Regions from separate parts of the Homo sapiens genome. Here region 2 is linked to region 1. Evidence: promoter capture Hi-C in 16 types of primary human blood cells and fetal thymus (Javierre and others, 2016). All regions are on one chromosome and are shown on one strand. The core of a region is centred on a gene start or on the middle of the fragment in contact, and the rest is flanking DNA. Distances in the headings are between cores, read along the strand shown. Region 1 holds the start of ABCA13 (ATP binding cassette subfamily A member 13). Region 2 overlaps VWC2 (von Willebrand factor C domain containing 2).

Evidence for each region. The method cuts DNA at HindIII sites, captures the fragments that hold promoters and counts their contacts. A CHiCAGO score of 5 or more calls a contact.
Region 2: a fragment that was not itself captured here is called in contact with the fragment with the promoter of ABCA13 in region 1 in 1 of 17 cell types (M1 macrophages); the score reaches 6.3 in M1 macrophages.

Annotation. Positions count from the first base shown.
Region 1 is chr7:48,169,769-48,173,793 of GRCh38, forward strand. It overlaps ABCA13 (ATP binding cassette subfamily A member 13), which reads left to right and starts at 1,690. Exons shown (of 62, transcript NM_152701.5): 1 at 1,690-1,784. The coding sequence starts at 1,716. The HindIII fragment of the contact is 8,502 bases long and covers 1-4,025 here.
Region 2 is chr7:49,861,373-49,865,043 of GRCh38, forward strand. All of the region lies in intron 3 of VWC2 (von Willebrand factor C domain containing 2), which reads left to right. It also overlaps a transcript of ZPBP not described here. Among named protein-coding and RNA genes, the nearest start is that of VWC2, 90 kb to the left of the region's middle. The HindIII fragment of the contact is 1,829 bases long and covers 1,184-3,012 here.

The DNA of each region.
Region 1 (4,025 bases), core at 440-2,939:
GGTCTCATCCAATTAGTTGAAGACCTAAACAGAACAAAAAGTCTGACTTTCCCCTAAGTTAGATAATTATTTCTGTCTGATGGCCTTCATACTGGGACATTGGCTTTTTTTTGTTTTCTGCCTTCAGACTTTATGGAAATACCAGCTTGTCCTGGGTCTCAAGTTTCCCAGTCTTTGGATGGCAACTACACCATTGGCTCTCCTGTTCTCAGGTCTTTGGACTCGGACTGGAACTATATCATTGGCTTCCTTGGGTCTCTGACTTGCTAATTCACCTTGCAGATCTTAGGACTTGCCCACCTCCATGACTGTGTGAGCCTATTCCTTATAATCAATCAATCAATCGATCAATGAATCACCCATTGGTTCTGTTTATCTGAAAATCCTAACACAGCATTGTTCCATGAAAGCAATGGATGAGATAATTTTTGTGTCTCTGACATAATTCTGGCATAGCAGCATAAAAACTGGCTGCTATGAACATAACATGAGAAAAACCTTATGGTTGGAGGCTTTTTCTTATACTAGATTTTTAAAAATTATGACAATTACTTGTAAGGTGTTCTAGATGTTATCTGCAAAGAGAACCAGAGTAGCAATACTTAGGCAACCCCAAAGACCTTTGAGAAGTCACAGGTCAAGGGGGAACATCATATGGGGATCAGGCAAATCCACTTATGGTTGCTGGGCGCCATCCTGCTAAGTAATGGCCTTCACTCTAGTGCTGCCAGCCATGTAACAAAAAATAAAATAAAATAGGCATGCTCTAAACAAATAAGTTTACAAAATAATTGAGTCAGTTTCTTTGCTGAAGCCTGTGTTCCCTGTTTCCTATTGCAAAAGCCATTTATCAAGCATTCACAGCTTGTGAAAATTGCTTTATGAAATAGAAGACCACAAGACTGGGTTGCCTGAAATCCTTCTGACCACAACTGGGGGCAACAGGAACTCAAGAGGGCCTGGCTTCCAAGACGATGGAGCCACCAGCTGGCAAGCTGAATCCATCATGCCACTTAGAAAGTGCAAGTGTTCAGGAATCAAACAGGACTCAGAGGTAATCCACAGGCCACTTGCTGAGTCCTGCCACATCTGCACCCGATACCATTTGAAACGTAGATCCTGATCCCTTTGGAGGAAATGGGTGAAGGAGAAGTATGAAGTGCAGGTGCAGTAGCAGAGTGGAACTTGAGTCACCCATTCCCCAAACTCCCCCAGACACCAACACTGCTTCCATCTCCTTCCCTTCAAACTCTCTGCCATGGGACCACCAAAATTGAAATATTTTGGCAAATTTGTGTAATAACCAATGCTTCAGAAGAAAAAAGGAAAATTCCATCTAATTAATATCCAGAAAAAAAGGGAGGTAAATGGTAAATGTGGGCATTACTTCTTGTCGCACAGATCAGTTCTGTGGGTTCTCGGAAAGGGAGGGCACCCTCTCTGTGTATGTGTGTATGCCCGAGAAAGTCCCTGAAGGCAGCTTTCTGTAATTCAACCCTCCTGAAACACTGAACAGCTAGTGAAAAGATTTCTCAGCAGATGCCGAACAAGAGGGGACATCTGATGCCTGTTTTATTCAGTCACCAGTAATCTCTCTTGCATCACTCACTTTTGTTAGAATTGACTAATAGGCAACATGCCTTCACTTGAGCCCAGCAGATATAAGCACCATCCTTACAGGCTGGCTTCCTGACTGAGAGCAGGGAGCAGCAGGCATGGGGCATGCCGGGTGCCAGTTCAAAGCCCTGCTGTGGAAGAATTGGCTCTGCAGACTCAGGAACCCGGTGAGTGCTTGCCTTGGTTTTCCATAGGGTTCCAGTGAGGTCTGGAGCAAGATCAGGGTCTATTCTTTCCTGCCTGCCTCTGCCTCCTGGCAGGTAAAAACACTCATGCTGCAGGGAATTTGGGGAGGTTGGATTATTTTAAATCAAAACCCGTCCCAAGGGCCAAAGTAGCTGAACACTTTAATGACCAGGATGAAATCAAGGCTGAAGAATTTATCAGAAAAGGGCAAATTTAGAAAAATTCTAAAAACAAACAAACAAAAAAGCAGGTGGAATTGAACTATAATTTGTGTTCTAAGCATTCGTTGTAAAAACTGAACAGTGAATTCTCAGGTTTAAGGAACAAAGCATTTGCTGCATTTAATGCATAAGCAGAATGCTACAGGTACTGACTCCGAAGCACAAGACTGCACAGTGTGCCTCACCAGAGCAGGGTATGACACATCCACTCTGTTATTCTGTAGGGTCACCATCTTTAGTGTTAATTCACATCTATTTAGAACTGTATTCAAATTACATTAGCAAGGTTTTCCTAAGGAGATTGGAATTGTTCAAATGAAACTTGTGTGAATACTTATGCAAATATCCTGTAAGTGTACGTTTTTGTGAAATAGAAATCAATTGCTTGTTATTATGACTAACTTTATTCCTGATGCCACTATATAAACATTAATACCTATAAATGTCATTTTCAGGAGAAGTAGATGTGCAGTAATTTACCTGCATCGTTTCTGATTTTAAGGTCTACAGTTAACCTATGGGAATTTTCTGCTGACAAATGCTTTGGTTTGAAGAGATTCAGTAATTGACATTGAATTACATTTTGCTGAATCCTCCGAGCCAGAATATTCTATCTCTCTGTCTTGAAATAAAATACAAGTTAAAGGAGATGTTTTCTTTTTTATGTGATCTTTAGGATCAAAATAATTTCAGTTGAAAGTTTGTACAAAAGTTTTAAGTTGGCCGGGCGCGGTGGCTCACGCCTGTAATCCCAGCACTTTGGGAGGCCGAGGCGGGCGGATCACGAGGTCAGGAGATCGAGACCATCCTGGCTAACACAGTGAAACCCCGTCTCTACTAAAAAAACACAAAAAAATTAGCCGGGTGTGGTGGCGGACGTCTGTAGTCCCAGCTACGCGGGAGGCTGAGGCAGGAGAATGGCGTGAACCCGGGAGGCGGAGCTTGCAGTGAGCCGAGATCGCGCCACTGCACTCCAGCCTGGGCGACAGAGCGAGACTCCGTCTCAAAAAAAAAAAAAAAAAAAAAAAAAAAAAAAAAAAAAAGTTTTAAGTTCAGGAATAAAGGAGTGAGACAGTCTTCATTGATTGTTAGTGTGTTCGTGTCTGTGTAGGTAGTTTTACATTTATAAACAGTGTATTTCATTGACATGTAAGTTTGTTTTAGGGAATTAGCCTATTTTCCCATGAAAGAGTGTTATGGGTGGAAGTTGGTTCCCAGGCACTGCTCTTTCTGCTTTATGCATATCTACCTCAAAACAGTTCAGTGACCGAGGTAGCCAGACTGCCTACTCCTCCTTAATGGATACTTGAGTTTTAAAAAATTTTCACAATTACTTTTGCTGCTAAGGCAAACATCCTCATCAGAAGGTTTTATTTGTTTGATAACTGTTTATTTAAAGTGGTAACTCCTGCATCCCACTTTTCTTTGACTTATTTTTCTTTAGTATTTATCATCTTGTAACACACCACAGATTTTCTTATTTGCCGATTGCCTCTGGATCCTACATTAGTATGTTACATGCATGAGAGCAGGACATTTTCCCCAATTGGTTCATCAATGTATTCTCCAGCACCCAGAACAGTGCCTGGCACACAATGGATGTTCAGTAAATATTTGTTGAATAAGTAAAAGAAGGAAGGAATAAAGCATTTATGCATCTCTGTTATGTGCCAGATAGTGGGTGAACAAGAAAAGTGAGTTCCTGGCCCACAAAGAGCTATAGTCTGTTCACAGAAAAGCAATGAAAAATGCAATTAAATATTTAATGAAACCACCTCTTGGGATATATCCTATAGATGTCCCTGCACAAATGGGAAGTGATATTTGTACAAGGTTGTTCATTATAGCAATGCCTAGAATAGCAACAGAGTAGAAACAACACAAGTGGTTCCATGCATAGAATTTGGAGCTGCCTGACTGGGTTCACATCCCAGCTCTGTCACTTACTAGTTTACTTTTTCAGGCAATTTCTTAACTTAGTTTTCTTCTCTGTAAAATGAA
Region 2 (3,671 bases), core at 848-3,347, 1.7 Mb after region 1:
TTATATTTTGAATATTAAGCCCTTATCAAATATATGATTTGCAAATATTTTCTCCCATTCTGTTTGCTGTCTTTTCACTGTCTTGATAAAATATCCCATTATGCAGGTGAGTTTTTAATTTTAATGAAATCCAGTTCATCTATTTTTTTCTTCTGTTGTTCATGTTTTGGTGTCATTTCTAAGAATCTGCTGCCAAATTCTGGGTAAGAAAGATTTAAACCTTTATTTTCTTTTAAGAGTTTTATGATTTTTAGATATTGCCTTTAGGCCACAGGCCAATTTTGAGTTAATTTTTGTATATGGTATGAGGTAGGGGACCAACTTCATTCTTTTGCACATGGCTTTCTAGTTGTCCCAGCACCATTTCTTGCAAAGGCTAATCTTTTCTTCACTGAATAGACTTGGCACTCTTGTCAAAAATCAGTTGGATGCAGAAGTCTGGGTTTACTTTTGGACTCTGAATTTTATTCTATTGTTTATATGTCTGTCCTTATGCCAGTACCACACTGTTTTGATTACTGTAACTTGGTGGTAAATTGGGAATTGTGTGTATTTTGACTTTTTTAAAGATTATTATGGTTATCCAGGGACCTGTGCAATTCCATATGAATTTTAGGATAGGCTTTTCCATTTCCATAAAAAATGGTTGTTGGAATTTTGAAAGGGATTGTATTGACTCTGTAGATTTCTTTGGGAAGTACTGCCATCCTGACAATATTAAGTCTTCCAAGCCATGAACATCAGATATCTTTTCATTTATTTGTGTTTTCTTTAATTTCTTTAAGCAATGTTTTATAGTTTTTAATGCACAAGTCTTTTACCTCAAATTTATTCCTAGATATTTTATTATTTTAGATGCTATTGAAATAGAATTGCTCTCTTAAATTTCTTTTCAAATTATTCATTGCCACTATATAGAAAAACAGCCTTTTTTTGTGTGTCAATCTTGTAACCAGCAAGTTTTCTGAGTTCAATTATTAGCCCTAGTATCTTCTCATGAATTATTTGAGGTTTTCTATAGACAGGATCATACTAACCGTGAATAGAGATAGTTTTATTTCTTCCTTTCCAATTTGGATGCTTTTATTTTCTTTGCCTAGTTGTTCTGGCTAGAACTTCCAATAAATGTTGAATAGCAGTGGTGAAATTGGAAATCCTTGTCTTGTTCCTATTTTAGGGGGAAAGCTTTCATTATTTCACCATTGAGTAAAATGTTAGCTGTAGGTTTTTCATAAAAGACTTTATGATGAGGAAGTTCCCTTCTCTTCCTACTTTGATGTGTTTTTTTTTTCATTATAATAGATCATTGGATTTTGTTAAATGCTTTATCTGCATCAATTGAGATGACCATGAGTTTTTTTTTTTCATTCTTCATTCTGTTAATGTGTTGTATTATGTCCATTAATTTTTGTAGGTTGAATCACCCTTACATTCAAGGAATAAATCCCATTTGGTCATGATGTATAATCCTTTTAATATGCTGTTGTATTCACTTTGCTACTGTTTCACTGAGGATGTTTTTTATCTGTCTCATTAGAGATATTTACCTATACTTTTCTTGTGATGTCTCAATCTGGCTTTGGTATCAAGGTAATGCTGGCCTCTTACAGTGAGGTAGGATGTATTCCTCCCTCTTCTATTATATGGAAGAGTTTGAGAAGGATTTGTGCTAATTGTTTGTTATATGTCTGAAATAATTCACCAGTGAAACCATCTGGTCCTGAACTTTTATTTGTTGGGAGGTTTTGGATTACTGATTCAATATCTTCACTTGTTATAGGTGTTTTGTTATTTTTCTTCTTTGTGAGTCAGCTTAGGTAGTTTGTGTGTTTCTAGGAATTTGTCCATTTCACGTAGTTTATCTAATTTGTTGGAGTACATTTGTTCATAGCAATCCTTTACAATCCTTTCTATTTCTGTGAGCTCCCACTTTCATTCCTGATTTTAGTAATTTGTATCTTCTCTCTTTTTATCTTCGCCACTCCAGCTAAAGATTTGTCAGTTTTGTTGATCTTTACAAAGCACCAAATTTGGCTTTGTTGATTCTCTCTCCCTTTTTTTCTTTTCTTTTCTTTTTTGAGACAAGATCTCACTCTGTCACACAGGCTGGAGTGCATGGCATGATCTCAGCTCACTGCAACCTCCACCTCCTGGGCTCAAGCGATCCTCCTGCCTCAGCCTCCCAAGTAGCTGGGACTACAGGTGTGCACCACCATGCCCAGATAAATTTTGTATTTTGTGTAGAGAAGGGGTCTTGCCATGTTGCCTAGTCTAGTCTTTAACTCCTGAGTCAAGCCATCCGCCCACCTCAGCCTCCGAAAGTGCTGGGATTAGAGACGTGAGCCACTGCACCTGGTCTGCTTTTCTATTCTCTATTTTGTTTATCCTGTGCTAATCTGTATTATTTCCTTCCTCCTGCTAACCTTGGGTTTAGTGTGCTCTCTTTTTACTCATTCTTTTAGGTGTAAAGTTAGATTATCGATTTGAGATCCTTTTCTGTTTTATAATATAAGCATTTATAGCCATAAATTTCCCTTTTAGCATAGTTTTTTCTGTAAGTTTTCGTATGTTGTTTTAAAATATTTTTTCTTTATTTTGTTTTAAAATATTTTCCCTTTAGTTTTGCAAAAATCATATATTGTTTATTATAGTGTGGTAAAATTGGAAATCAGACTGCCCTTCTTCCAGAGGTCTCCTGTTTTTGTTGTTGTTGTTGTTGTTGCGGGCTGTGATTGTTTGTCTGTTTTGTGACTTTTCTTAACTATTTTTCAGACTGTACTCCTTGCCATTGGTGTCACTGAAGTCTGTTCCTTAGATATTGTTCAGTTAGCTTTTTCCAAAGGTTTCCTTGAATATCAAGGGAAAGAGAGGAAGACAGAGAAAGAAGACAAAGAAGGAGGGAGGAGAAGATAGGAGAACCTCTTGTAGTCTCTGCAGAATTGTTCTGTGCTTGGACCTTCCTTCACCCCTTAACTGGATTTCCCAGGAGCCTCAGAATCCACCTGGGATGAAAGCTTAAGGTCTTCTCAGTTTTTTTCTGATCATGCATCTTACCTTGGGCAAGTGCATGGTGTTCTAGATTCCTCCAAATACATGGGTGCTTTAGAATGCCCGAATATCCCAAGGAAGCTCTTTCTGGGCTCTTTCTCCCTCACTCTAGTAGGCCTCTGCATGTCTCAACAGTTGTCTTTTGGCCTGGGTAGTTGGCTGCAGGTTGTTGTCAGCCTTACGGTGTTTTCGAGCATCATCTACTGCTCTTCCATCCCGAATGGCTTCTGAGTTAGGCAAAACAGAGGCCTGCATCTTCTGTTGGTCTTTCAAGTAGCTCCAGACAGTTTCAAACAGACATGCACAATAATTTATGAATGCTGTCTGCTCCCTTCTGAACCCGGGACCAAGTTCCCAGCATGGGAATGGAGACTGCTGCTGAGCAGGGGAGGGTGAAGCAAGGACAATCAAGACTGCCTCAAAGCTTTCCTGCCATTTTTAAGTTGCCTTGTTCGTGATTCAGTGCTTGCTTTGTTGCTGTAAACCTTTGACTGTTTTCCACGTTTCTAATGAAGCTGGTTCTGACAGTTCCTGTTTGTTTTTCAGTGCTCCTGTGGGAAGAATGGGAGGGGTAGAGCTGCCTACTCTCAATTTTTTCTGATATCCCTCTATATTTATTCTTA